3 separate regions of the Homo sapiens genome follow, and all the other regions are linked to region 3. Evidence: promoter capture Hi-C in 16 types of primary human blood cells and fetal thymus (Javierre and others, 2016). All regions are on one chromosome and are shown on one strand. The core of a region is centred on a gene start or on the middle of the fragment in contact, and the rest is flanking DNA. Distances in the headings are between cores, read along the strand shown. Region 1 overlaps JAKMIP3 (Janus kinase and microtubule interacting protein 3). Region 2 overlaps JAKMIP3 (Janus kinase and microtubule interacting protein 3). Region 3 holds the start of LRRC27 (leucine rich repeat containing 27).

What was found. The method cuts DNA at HindIII sites, captures the fragments that hold promoters and counts their contacts. A CHiCAGO score of 5 or more calls a contact.
Region 1: a contact is called between a fragment that was not itself captured here and the fragment with the promoter of LRRC27 in region 3, in 2 of 17 cell types (non-activated CD4 T cells and naive CD4 T cells). The highest score is 5.4, in non-activated CD4 T cells.
Region 2: a fragment that was not itself captured here is called in contact with the fragment with the promoter of LRRC27 in region 3 in 2 of 17 cell types (naive CD8 T cells and naive CD4 T cells); the score reaches 6.6 in naive CD8 T cells.

The regions. Positions count from the first base shown.
Region 1 is chr10:132,182,183-132,186,493 of GRCh38, reverse strand. It overlaps JAKMIP3 (Janus kinase and microtubule interacting protein 3), which reads right to left. Exons shown (of 24, transcript NM_001323087.2): 24 at 1,636-4,137. It overlaps JAKMIP3-AS1 (JAKMIP3 antisense RNA 1), which reads left to right. Exons shown (of 4, transcript NR_184044.1): 1 at 1-1,529; 2 at 2,172-2,297. Among named protein-coding and RNA genes, the nearest start is that of JAKMIP3-AS1, 2.4 kb to the left of the region's middle. The HindIII fragment of the contact is 1,394 bases long and covers 576-1,969 here.
Region 2 is chr10:132,157,398-132,161,328 of GRCh38, reverse strand. The region is part of intron 19 of JAKMIP3 (Janus kinase and microtubule interacting protein 3); the gene reads right to left. Among named protein-coding and RNA genes, the nearest start is that of JAKMIP3-AS1, 27 kb to the left of the region's middle. The HindIII fragment of the contact is 6,467 bases long and covers 1-3,931 here.
Region 3 is chr10:132,329,619-132,333,771 of GRCh38, reverse strand. It overlaps LRRC27 (leucine rich repeat containing 27), which reads right to left and starts at 1,579. Exons shown (of 11, transcript NM_030626.3): 1 at 1,516-1,579; 2 at 38-295. The coding sequence starts at 247. It also overlaps a transcript of STK32C not described here. RefSeq lists a silencer at 1,758-1,877 and an enhancer at 1,762-2,296. The HindIII fragment of the contact is 6,954 bases long and covers 1-4,153 here.

The DNA.
Region 1 (4,311 bases), core at 23-2,522, 150 kb after region 3:
ACACCCGTCCAGGAAGGCACCTTGGCCAAAGCCGGCTCCTTCGCAGATGACCCGGGCCAGGGTCCGAGCGCCAGGCTGTGACCCCGCGAGGCTGTTCCACGCTGGCCGCGAGAGACGGAGGGCAGGAGGGGCCCGAATAGGACAGAGAGAGAGAGAGAGAGAGACAGAAGGAGGCGCACGCGCTCCCCAGGGACCGGGACGCGGTGGTGGGCGGGACCTCGCGGGGGTGGGGGGTGGTCGCAGGACCCAGAAGGCTCAGGACCTTTACGGATAGGGAGGACCCCGCAGGGGGGAGCGGGGGAGCCCCACGCCCGGCGTCCTCCGGGTGCGAGGGTCTCGGGGAGTCCGAGCCCGGGCCCACGGCCTCTGTCCCGCGGCCACTACCTGCTGGGGGTCCCGGGCCTGGGCCACGCCGGGCTGCCCTCGGGGACTTGCTGCGGCCGTTGAGGGGTCTCCGCGCGCCGCGCAGACTCGCCTCCCAACCCGAGGGCCCGGGCGGCCGCCGCCCAGAGCGTCCAGCGGCAGCGTCTTGCTCTCGAAGGCGTCCTCCACGCAGCGGAACACGCAGCCAAGCTTGGGCCGGGCCAGAGGCCTCGCGGGCTCCTGAGGCTGCCGCGCGGTCACGGCAGGAGCGGGCGACAGAATCCGGTCTCGGAGCCTCCTGTAGCGAGGTCTGCGCGGCAGGTGCACTGGGCGGACCTGGAGGCCGCGCCCTCCCCCCCCGCCTCCTGCCGCCCGGCAGCGCTGCGCGGAGCTGGCTCTGTCCACGTAGCGGGTGCTGAACGCCCCATTCTGGCCCCTGGGTGCTCGCTTAGTCCCGGCCACGCGTGGCTGCTCGCCCTCGGGACACACTGGGCGCTGGGAAGGCCGGGCGGGGAGCGCGCACCGGAGAAACCGCTGTGGGAATCCCGGCCACATTTCCAGGCCCCTTGGGCCGTCCCACGCCAGACAAGAAAGCCCTGACTCCGAAACCCTGGGCGAGTGTGGAGGGCGCGCGGGGGTGGGGTGTACCCGCCCACGCAAACTGCTGCTGATCTCCCTTAAAGCCGAGTTAGAGGCTTGGGGCGAGACAGGAGTGACGGGCGATGCTGTCACTCCATCTGTCATTCTACCCAGCCTGCAGCAGCTGAATTCGAACCCAGAGACTTCAGGCCTTTGCGTTGTTACCGCAGTCCGCATTTCAAAGCCAGAGTTTGGCCACTGAGTCACCATGACCTCGAGTACTGGCGGGGCCCGAGCCAGCAGAGCTAGGTCCAGCAGCTTCCCACCCCTTCGTCCTCCTCTGGGCTCCCCCTCCCCTAAATGATTAATGCAATGTCTGTTACTCACCTGTGTGGGACCGTCCACGGCAAATATCACCAACTGTTCTTATGCACGTGCAGAAGTTCCGTCCCTTTCCTAACTGTCTGATCTCTTCCATGGTTCACATTTGACCAACAGCCACAGGAGGGAGCCTCCCAGGTGGTCGACCGGAGCCAGGTGCTGCCAGGCACCCGACTGCAGAGCTTGCCCTCCAGGTGATCTCGCAGGTGAGAACTGGGGCTTTCCTCCACAGTGGGCGGAAGGCGCGGACTCCGTTTCTGGTGTGCAGAGGCACTGTTCAGAGAATGAACTCAGAAGTGCAGAAATGGCTCATACGGCTTTCAGTTCAAACTTTAATACCTTTGAGGGGACTTTAATCGTCTAAGATTTAAAACATTTTTTATTAAAACTGTACAATAATTTACAAACGAGTAAAAAATTCTCTGGTATATATCATAGGAATCACAATACAAAAATATTTGTAAAATCTTGTAGATCACCATACAAACCTATTTTAGGCCTGTGAATACTGCTTAGCATGGAACGGAATGTCACGTGGTTAGAGGGTGACTATGAAGGGAGTGCCTGGGAGAATACACACACTACCTGGCATGCCGCCGTAAGAAAACAGGCCCGGTTAGTTTTTGCATAAATTTACAATAAAGCTTTTTAAAAAATATACAGTAAACAAATATATGATTTGATACCTATATTCACAATATGAGTTTCCTGAGGCTAAACTGAATTCCATTACTGTGATAAAACACACACTCTCTCTCAGGGTTTCAAGGATGGGATGACGGTGAGTTGGCGAATGCGTCAGTGCCTCCAAACCCACACTTGGGCACTCTCTTCTTTTTGACTTCTAGTATCGGTGTTCACAAGCCCTGTAAGGCACTCGGGGTATCCTGAAGGCTACAGATTCTGCAAGGGCAGAGACTTTAAGGAACAGCCATAGTCCTTCTCCAGCTCAAAATCTGGACCATGGGCACAAGGTAAACAACACACTGGTGTCAACAAAGGAATCTGCTATTTATGTGGATTTTTACTTTAGACAAACTAAAGTATCTATGTTGTTCTGTGTGTTGAACACAGAGTGTGATGATGTTAATATAATGTAAATGTTGATGTAACAGTACATTTCTGGCAACATTTCAGGGTCCTTCCTCTTGCCTTATTAGGGGGTGATGCATTCATACAGACTTCCCCTGTTAGAAGAGCTAGCAGTAAGACAGCCCAAGTACTTGGAGGAAATTCACTCTAGCCCATTGGTTTGGAAAAGAAGGTATAGCCTGCAATTTAGAAATGCACCTTATTTTTAAATACTTGAATTCTGCTGCTGCTCACTGGACCAGGAGGAGTCAGTGATAAATGCTCATATTTACCTTTTTGGGGGCAAAAACCCAGTTCTGAAATGCTGGGTATTGTAATCAGATGTAAAGAAGGTGCCTATGATAGACGAGTGAAAACAATGATATCTAAGGAGAGGAACTGACGCTCCAACTAGATGTGTGCTTTCAGGAATGGGGCAGAGACGCGATGCAGTTTGGATGTTATTCAGCACATTCCTTGCACCTTCTCCCGTTCCTATATACATACTTTTTACATATAAACAATTACAACTTCATAAGGATTTGGTACATATTTACATGCTTCTCTTTGCCGTATAGTTTGCCTTATTATTATTACAGAACTGTGATTAAGAGTGTCTGTGGTGGATAGAGGTGTATGAAGTGCTCCAGACATATATACAACATGCTAAACCATGATGACCCAAATAAACATGAGGGATGTGAATCTGGGAATGTGAGTTTCACTGCACATCTTTAGATCCGAAACAGCTGGCCCATGCAGCTGTTGTTCCCATGCAGGTACACATTGGGACCATGCCAGGAGCTCTCCCAGAGGAGGAGGCCAGGCTGGCAGGGAGCCAGGTAGAGTTACAACATATTTCTGGATGCCTGCATCGTAGAGTCCATCGGACTTCAACCCAGCGGTTCACCCACAGCGCCACGGTAGCTTTTATTAACACAAGGCTATTGTGTGCCATTCAGTTGTGAGTATAATAAATGTGCCAAGAAGATGCAGTCGTTAAAATGAGACAAAACTATGCACAGAGGACTAAACAGGATTTCAGACTCGAGACGCAAACCCCGAGGTCAGGCTCAGCTAGAGACACTGAACTGGCCCAGTATCTTGCCGAGTAAATCAGGAACTGTGGCTTGAATGACAACAGAAATGGATGGGTCTTTCTTGGACAAGTGCTGATTAATAGTGCATTTTCCAGCAAAAATCCTGCAGCCACCAAAGAAAAAGCATATCTGTCTGATACTATTAGCTTTTCCCTGATTTCAACCTAGGGAGCCATGCCTGGTCCGCAGCCACCGTGTCATCTGCCCCAAAGTCAGACATTTCTTCTGACACAAATATAAAATGAGCCTAATACTTCCAGACAACCCAGTCCTCCCTACGGCAGCTGAGTCGTGTCTTTTATACAATGCTGCCAGTAACAGTCACACCTGGCTGCACAGCTGGCTGCCTCAACTTCTAGGTGCCTCGAAATGGCTAAATCCCACGAATGGCTCTTCTGGTTGCGTGAAAACATGCATAAACGCATGCTTGTGCACACAAGTGAGCACACACACACACCTCCTGTCAATTCAGCTCTGAGAGCAGAACCTTAGCCCACCTAGGGTGGGAGGACACAGAAGTTCCATCTGCAGCCAGTCAGGCTCCATCCACAGGCTGGACGAAGCTCCCGGGCTGCGTCCCGGGTCTCCCAGCAGGAATGGAAATCACACCTAACGTTGCCTTCACCAATGCACTGCTTCCTCTCTGAAAAAGAGTGGAGAAAACGCCGTTTAGTGCGACGACCTGGGGAATGTGTGTGACCCACCACAGGTCAGCACTCAAGGCAGTTGGGGCCTTGACCAGGCACTGGCTCTGCACAGGATGGTCACTGAGCCAATGGCAGGCACTGCCCTCATGGGTCCAGCACCAGCTACAGCG
Region 2 (3,931 bases), core at 611-3,110, 170 kb after region 3:
TCACACAGGGAGAGACCACCCCAGCATCACACAGGGAGAGACCACCCCAGCATCACACAGGGAGAGGCCCCCCCAGCATCACACAGGGAGAGGCCCCCCCAGCATCACACAGGGAGAGGTCCCCCAGCATCACACAGGAAGAGACCCCCCAGCATCACACAGGAAGAGGCTCCCCAGCATCACACAGGGAGAGGCCCCCTCAATAAGACACAGGAATAGACCCCCCCCAGCATCACACAGGAAGAGGCCCCCCCAGCATCACACAGAAAGACACGCCCCCAGCATCACACAGGAAGAGGCCCCCCCAGCATCACACAGTGAGAGGCCCCCCCCAGCATCACACAGGGAGAGGCCCACCCAGCATCACACAGGGAGAGGCCCACCCAGCATCACACAGGAAGAGACCCCCTAGCATCACACAGGAAGAGGCCACCGCCTGCATCACACAGGGAGAGGCCCCCCCCAGTAAGACATAGAAGTAGACCCCCACCAGCATCACACAGGAAGAGGCCCCCCCCAGCATCACACAGGGAGACCCCCCCCCCAGCATCACACAGGAAGAGACCCCCCAGCATCACACAGGAAGAGACCCCCCCAGCATCACACAGGGAGAGGCCCCCCCAGCATCACACAGGGAGAGGCCCCCCCCAGTAAGACATAGAAGTAGACCCCCACCAGCATCACACAGGAAGAGGCCCCCCCCAGCATCACACAGGGAGACCCCCCCCCCAGCATCACACAGGAAGAGACCCCCCAGCATCACACAGGAAGAGACCCCCCCAGCATCACACAGGGAGAGGCCCCCCCAGCATCACACAGGGAGAGGCCCCCCCAGCATCACACAGGGAGAGGTCCCCCAGCATCACACAGGAAGAGACCCCCCCAGCATCACACAGGAAGAGGCTCCCCAGCATCACACAGGGAGAGGCCCCCTCAATAAGACACAGGAATAGACCCCCCCCAGCATCACACAGGAAGAGGCTCCCCAGCATCACACAGGGAGAGGCCCCCTCAATAAGACACAGGAATAGACCCCCCCCAGCATCACACAGGAAGAGGCCCCCCCAGCATCACACAGTGAGAGGCCCCCCCCAGCATCACACAGGGAGAGGCCCACCCAGCATCACACAGGGAGAGGCCCACCCAGCATCACACAGGAAGAGACCCCCTAGCATCACACAGGAAGAGACCCCCCCCAGCATCACACAGGAAGAGGCCACCGCCTGCATCACACAGGAAGAGACCCCCCCAGCATCACACAGGAAGAGGCCACCGCCTGCATCACACAGGAAGAGGCTCCCCAGCATCACACAGGGAGAGGCCCCCCCCAGTAAGACATAGAAGTAGACCCCCACCAGCATCACACAGGAAGAGGCCCCCCCAGCATCACACAGGGAGACCCCCCCCCAGCATCACACAGGAAGAGACCCCCCAGCATCACACAGGAAGAGACCCCCCCAGCATCACACAGGGAGAGGCCCCCCAGCATCACACAGGGAGAGGCCCCCCAGCATCACACAGCGAGAGGCCCCCCAGCATCACACAGGAAGAGACCCCCCAGTATCACACAGGAAGAGGCCCCCCCAGTATCACACAGGAAGACATGCCCCCAGCATCACACAGGGAGAGGCCCCCTGAGCATCACATAGGGAGAGGACCCCCCAGCATCACACAGGGAGAGGCCCCCCAGCATCACAAAGGAAGAGGACCCCCAGCATCACATAGGAAGACATGCCCCCAGCATCACACAGGGAGACACGCCCCCCCAGCATCACACAGGGAGAGACCCTCCCAGCATCACACAGGAAGACACACCCCCAGCATCACACAGGGAGAGCCTCCTCCAGCATTACACAGGAAGAGAGCCCCCCCACCCAGCATCACGCAGAAAAAACACACCCCCGGCATCCACAGGAATAGGCCCCCTCAGTAAGACACAGGAATAGACCCCCCCCAACCAGCATCACACAGGGAGAGGCCCCCTCAGCATCACACAGGGAGAGGCGCCCTCAGCATCACACAGGGAGAGGCGCCCCCAGCATCACAGAGGAAGAGGTGCCCCCGACATCACACAGGGAGAGGCCCCCCCAGCATCACACAGGGAGAGATGCCCCCACAGCATCACACAGGGAGAGATGCCCCCACAACATCACACAGGAAGAGATACCCCCACAACATCACACAAGGAGAGACGCCCCCAGAATCACACGGGGAGAGACGCCCCCAGAATCACACGGGAAGACACAACCCCAGCGTCACACAGGGAGAGGGCCCTCTGACATCACACAGGAAGAGACCCCCCCCAGCATCACACAGGGAGAGGCCCCCCCCCAGCATCACACAGCGAGAGATCCCCCCCAGCATCACACAGCGAGAGGTCCCCCCCCCCAGCATCACAAAGGAAGATGCCCCTCCCACAGCATCACACAGGAAGATGCCCCTCCCACAGCATCACACAGGAAGATGCCCCTCCCACAGCATCACACAGGAAGATGCCCCTCCCACAGCATCACACAGGAAGATGCCCCTCCCACAGCATCACACAGGAAGATGCCCCTCCCACAGCATCACACAGGAAGATGCCCCTCCCACAGCATCACACAGGAAGATGCCCCTCCCACAGCATCACACAGGAAGATGCCCCTCCCACAGCATCACACAGGAAGATGCCCCTCCCACAGCATCTCACAGGAAGATGCTCCTCCCACAGCATCTCACAGGAGGATGCCCCCAGTCCCCTCCAGAGTAGGGGCCATTAATCCTGGCCCAACCAGCAACCATGTGCCTCCCCACTGGTCTTTGGGGCTGAATGATCCCCTGAGCAGTTGGCCCCATCTGAGGTCTGAGAACACAGCTACTGTGGAGGTGGCAGAGAGAGGTGGCCTCACAGAAAGCTGAAGCTGGGCTTTGATCTTCTGGAAATGTGTGTGGAGACCTACATCTCTAATCCCATGGGGTGTCCATGGGATGTTTGATCACAAGGACCATGGTGGCAGTTGCTCTGGGCCAGGGCCCCCACTCCTGGAGCTCTCTATGCTCAGATCCTGCATTCTGGTCAGGTCAAGGGGGCCCATAGGCCACTTCTCCACTCATGGGACAACTCTCCCGACCCAGTGGAGGGATTCTGGGACTGAGGCATCACTCCAGACACAATCTTACAAAGGGGAATTATCTGTGACGTTAGGGTGGAAAAGGTGGATGGCTGAGTAGACAGATGCTGCCGGGGGCGGGGCGGGGCGGGGCGGGGCGGGGGGGCGGTGGGCAGCCATCCTGGAGGTGCATAAATTTCCATTTCCTCTTTACACCTGCCTCACACACACCTCAAAGTAATGCTGAAAGAAAACACTGGAATTTTTTTGTACAATCTCTTTTTTTTTTCTGTACGAAGTTGAAATTATGCCATAAAACCTGGAGGCCATCAACCTCGTAAAAATTACCCAAATTCTGCCAGGCCCTCAAAACAGTGTTTGATATCAAAGAGCAACAACAAGCTGGGTGAAATATTTGCCATGTCCCATTCTTCTGACTAAGGAAATAAAGGAAATATTTGCAATGGATGGCAAAGGGCTGGTTGCCTTCTTTTATCAAGAGCTCTGACCAAAATGTCAGATAGCATGAGAGAGGTGGGAAAGGTTACAAACAGACGTGGCGTGGAGTTGCATAGAAACATGTTAGACTTTGAGCTCACCAGAGACATGCCTGCTAGGACTGCACCAGGCGGCTGCATATCATGCAGTGGAAGTTTGGGCTGCAAGTTATACCTACTATGGGGAGAAATATTCGGCAGTTCCTAACAACACCTTAAGTGTGCATACCCTTTGGTCATTCCAAATAACTTTTCCTGCAGATAATCTCCATTTGTGTGTCGGGACGTCAGAAATGGATAGGAATTGCTGTTTTGCTGGTGATAGCTAATGCATGGACAGTACCT
Region 3 (4,153 bases), core at 330-2,829:
CCTGTGGGCACACAGCCTGAGGAGCAGCCCCACTTACTTGAAGGCTGGGGATTCTAAAGACCTCCTCCAAACGGCACAGACCACTTTCACTCAAGTCTAAAATCGGTGAGGAGGAAAAGATGATGCCTCCAACACCCTTGTGAACATCTTTGGAGGGGGTGGCAGGCAAGCTCCTAGTCTGACCAGCACCCTCCTCCAGATCAGCAGCAGCCACAGAGGGAACTTCGTAGGAGCTGCTTCCCTCCATCCGTTCTCTTCCAGGGACAGCAGCTCATCCTCCTTGGTCTGGAGTCACCTGGAGACACGGGAAAGGGAAACGTAGAAGCAACTAATTATACCGAGGCAAAACAGAATAGCTGTGTGGCAGATCTACTGTAATGTAACTTGCTTTAAAAGCTATCATTTTTCCTAAGCAGTAGCAAAAATTTGACTTTTAAACATGTAAAAAAAAAAAAAAGGAATACAAAGAGGTTCAGATTAAAATTCTCTGCTCTCACTTTGTACAATGGAGTTCCAAGATTTAACTCCTGGAAAACGCAAAGGCGCACAATAGTAATGATCATTTTAGGGATGTAAACAGATCGGAACATTTCAAAGCCTGTAAATCAACTGCAACGCTTCCATGAAATGACTAGGGGCGGGTGGAAATTTGCACTGTTTCTTACCTCTGGTGTGGTTCTGTGCCATTTGAACTATGTTTTTAGTTTCTTGAGGCCAGGAAGCCTGTCTTTTGTTTACCATTTTGACCCAGTGACCAGAACTAAGTCTGGCTTACACCCAGTTAAGCACCGGGGAAAAACCTGTTAAATTAATCTCGAATTTTCGTTGTCCAGCAACACTTTTACTCAGAAGTATTGTTCACCAAAATCTCATTCAGCGAGGCACACTTCCACTTGCAATTTCCAAACAATTTATTCGGCAATAAGAATCAACGTTGGAATGCATCAGTTCACCTAATTCAAGTCACTCAACAGCCCAATGATTGGCATATGAGGCGCAGATCAGTTAGGGAACTGTTCCAGGGGCGCAGTTAATTGGGGGGTAGAGGCGACACCGGGACCCAGCAGGGTTCAACCCCAGGCAGCCTGCATTCCATGGAAGCCCGCGGGCTTTTTCACGGTCAGTTCACTTGTTTTCTCCGAATCACGGAACTTAAAACAGAGGAGGGGAGGCTTCAAACCTCAGAACAGGGAAAGTATCTTAAAACCAGAAGTGAAACAACAGCCTGGACTCACACAGGGCCCAGGCAGCGCAGGCTCCGTGGGGTTTCCGAGGCTGCCTTCAAGGGATCCCCACGCACGCCCACCCCCGCTCCCTGCCTCGATTTCCCCATCCGGGCGAGGCTGAGTTGGGTCCGACGCTCTGGGCCTCACATTCCAGGCCTCAGAAGGGCAGCCTTTGCGGTCAGCATCGCGGCTGGAGCTAGGCGACAGGGCACGACGGGCCGAGGCACCACCTTCCTGCCGCCGCCCGCCTCGAGGGCTCAGCGAGCTGGCCGTACCCGCCCCGTCTCACCTGCCGCGTCCCCGCCCACTGAAGCGCTGGCGAGCCCCGCCGCTGAGAGCAGCAGCCCGACAATGGAGGCCACCCAGCCAACGCGGTCGCCATGGAGACGCCGGTACGGAATCCCGCAGGCGCCACGCTGAGCGCGAGTGTGTCTGTGATGCGCCTGCGCGAGGGGTGTGGTGCGCCTGCGCGCGGGGGTGTGCGTGTTGTGGGGGTTTGTGCCTGCGTGCGGGGGCGGGGTGTGGGTGCCCCTGCGCGGCAGGGGGTCGGGTGTGGTGCGCCTGCCCGGGAGGGGGCGGGGTGTGGTGCGCCTGCGCTGGGGCGGGGGGTTGCGCTTGCGGTGGGGGGGTTGTGGTGCGCCTGCGCGGGGGTGGCAGGGGGTGGTGCGCCTGCGCACGCACGCGGCCAACGGTAGCATCCGTTTTTCCGCGCCCGCGGCCTTGAAGGGGTGGTGGTCGACGGGCAAGTAGAGACCGCGAGGGTCTGGAGGGGCGACCGGCCTGGCACAGAGGGGAAGGAAGAGAGCGGGATGCTAAGTGCCGTCTGGGGAGCCGGAGGGCCCGGGGCGGGCGGGGCTGCTCGAGGACAGCCGAGCAGAAAAGAATTGCTGCTGAGGCACCACCTTTGGAGCGGTCCTCGCTGCCTGTCCTTCCCGCTGGGCTCACTCCCCGCGTCTCTCCTGGGGCTTCCTGGAGCCACTTCCCACAGGAGCTGCTTGTCCCCAAATCTTGCCTCAGGACTTGCTGCCAGGGGAACGCAGACTCAGAGCGTCCTCTTTGGAGAAGTAAGGCTGCCTCTGGACGGAGGAGTGAGGGGGGCGAGGAAACGCAGTGAGTGTCCTGAGGAAGGGTTTTGAGAATTTGGAAGAAGATGAAATGACACCGGGCGGGAGGGGAGGTGCTCGCGTGGTCCTGTGGAACCCTGGAGTCCCGTGCACCTTCATTCCAGGATCCAACTGATAATGAAAAGTAGCACCCTCTGTCCCACCCAGAAACACTCTGGAAACCCGGACAGTTTAGCTGGAGTCTGCCATGATTTCACTTTTTTTTTTTTTTTTTTTTTTTTGAGGTGGAGTCTTGCTTTGTCTCCCAGGCTGGAGTGCAGTAGCGCGATCTCGGCCCACTGCGACCTCCGCCTCCCAGGTTCAAGCAATTCTCCTGCCTCAGCCTCCCCAGTAGCTGGGACTACAGGCGCGCGCCACCACGTCCAGCTAATTTTTGTATTTTTAGTAGAGACGGGGTTTCATCATGTTGGCCAGGCTGGTCTCGATCTCCTGACCTCATGATCCGCCCCCCTCGGCCTCCCAAAGTGCTGGGATTACAGGCATGAGCCACCGTGCCCGGCCTGATTCCACTTTTTAAAGGAAACGACATAATTATGTGGAGAAACGACTATCCACTTTGAGGGGATTTACGTTTTATTTTTGTGAAGAGATCACAGTAAGAAATGTTTTTTAGGCCGGACACGATGGCTCACGCCTGTAACCCTAGCACTTTGGGAGGCCAGGGTGGGAAGATCGCTTGAGGCCAGGAGTTGGAGACCAGCCTGGGCAACCCAGTCTCTACAAAAATTAAAAAAAAAAAAAAAAAAAAATGCTGGGTGTGGTGGCACACACCTGTAGTTCCAGCTGTGTGGGAGGGTGAGGCAAGAGGATCGCTTGAACCTAGGATTTTGAGGCTGCAGTGAGTTATGATTGTGCCACTTAATGTCAGCTTCGGTGACAGCGAGACCCTGTCTCAAAAAAAAAGTTTTCGTACATACCCAACTATCTACCAATCAGGAAGCTGAAAGCACAACCAGTACCTTCTCAGGAGCGTGGGGAGGCCAGCCACCCGGGCAGAGCAAGGAGAGAATGAGGAGTGACATGGGTGTTGCCGTGAGTGGCGAAGGGGATGGAAGATTTCAGCACGATGCTATTTCTAACAAGTTTCAGCATTCCAGTATCTCTTTTCACAAATAAAACATTTACTAACCATTTGAGCGTATTCCCTCTTGCTTGTTATTGTTGCCTCAGGTTTTTGTTTCACATTTTTCATGCTACATTAATTTTTGTAGTCAGTAGTTAATTGTATGTACGAGCATGTTTTGCCCTTTACTGTGCTCAGTTTTTGCCCAGCCAGATTGTATCCATTGGTAGCCTTTTGGCAAGTATTCTTGGGTGAGCCTCCCAACGTAGGAACGAATGAAGTGTTCGTGTTGATCTGATTATTGAGTGGCTGTGGAGCTGGTGCCGCGTTCCTTGTTGAGTCATTTCCTGTCTTGATTTTAGGACCTTCCTCCGGGCAGCGACTGCTGCTACCCTGCCGAGAAGTTTGCTGCCCGTGGCATTGCTACTTCCATGAAGGAAATCTATCTTCTCTTTTCATGTCTTTGTTCTGAAATTTCGCTGTGGTATTTCTGAGTATAAGTTGGTTTGGCTGTGTTGCCTGGCGCTGGCCGTGTCTTCTCACCTGAGATAGCTAAGTTTCAGTTCCCAGCCCTTCCCGGCCATCTGTCCTCCCGTGGCACCTCTGCACCCTGACATAATTCTTGTTCTGGATCTCCTAAAAGGGAGTAGCTTGCACCCATTCAGTGTCTTCTCCATCTCTCAAACTGCGCTTCCCAGTATTGGTCTCTGTGTTCTCAGTTTACGATCTTCCAGTTTACT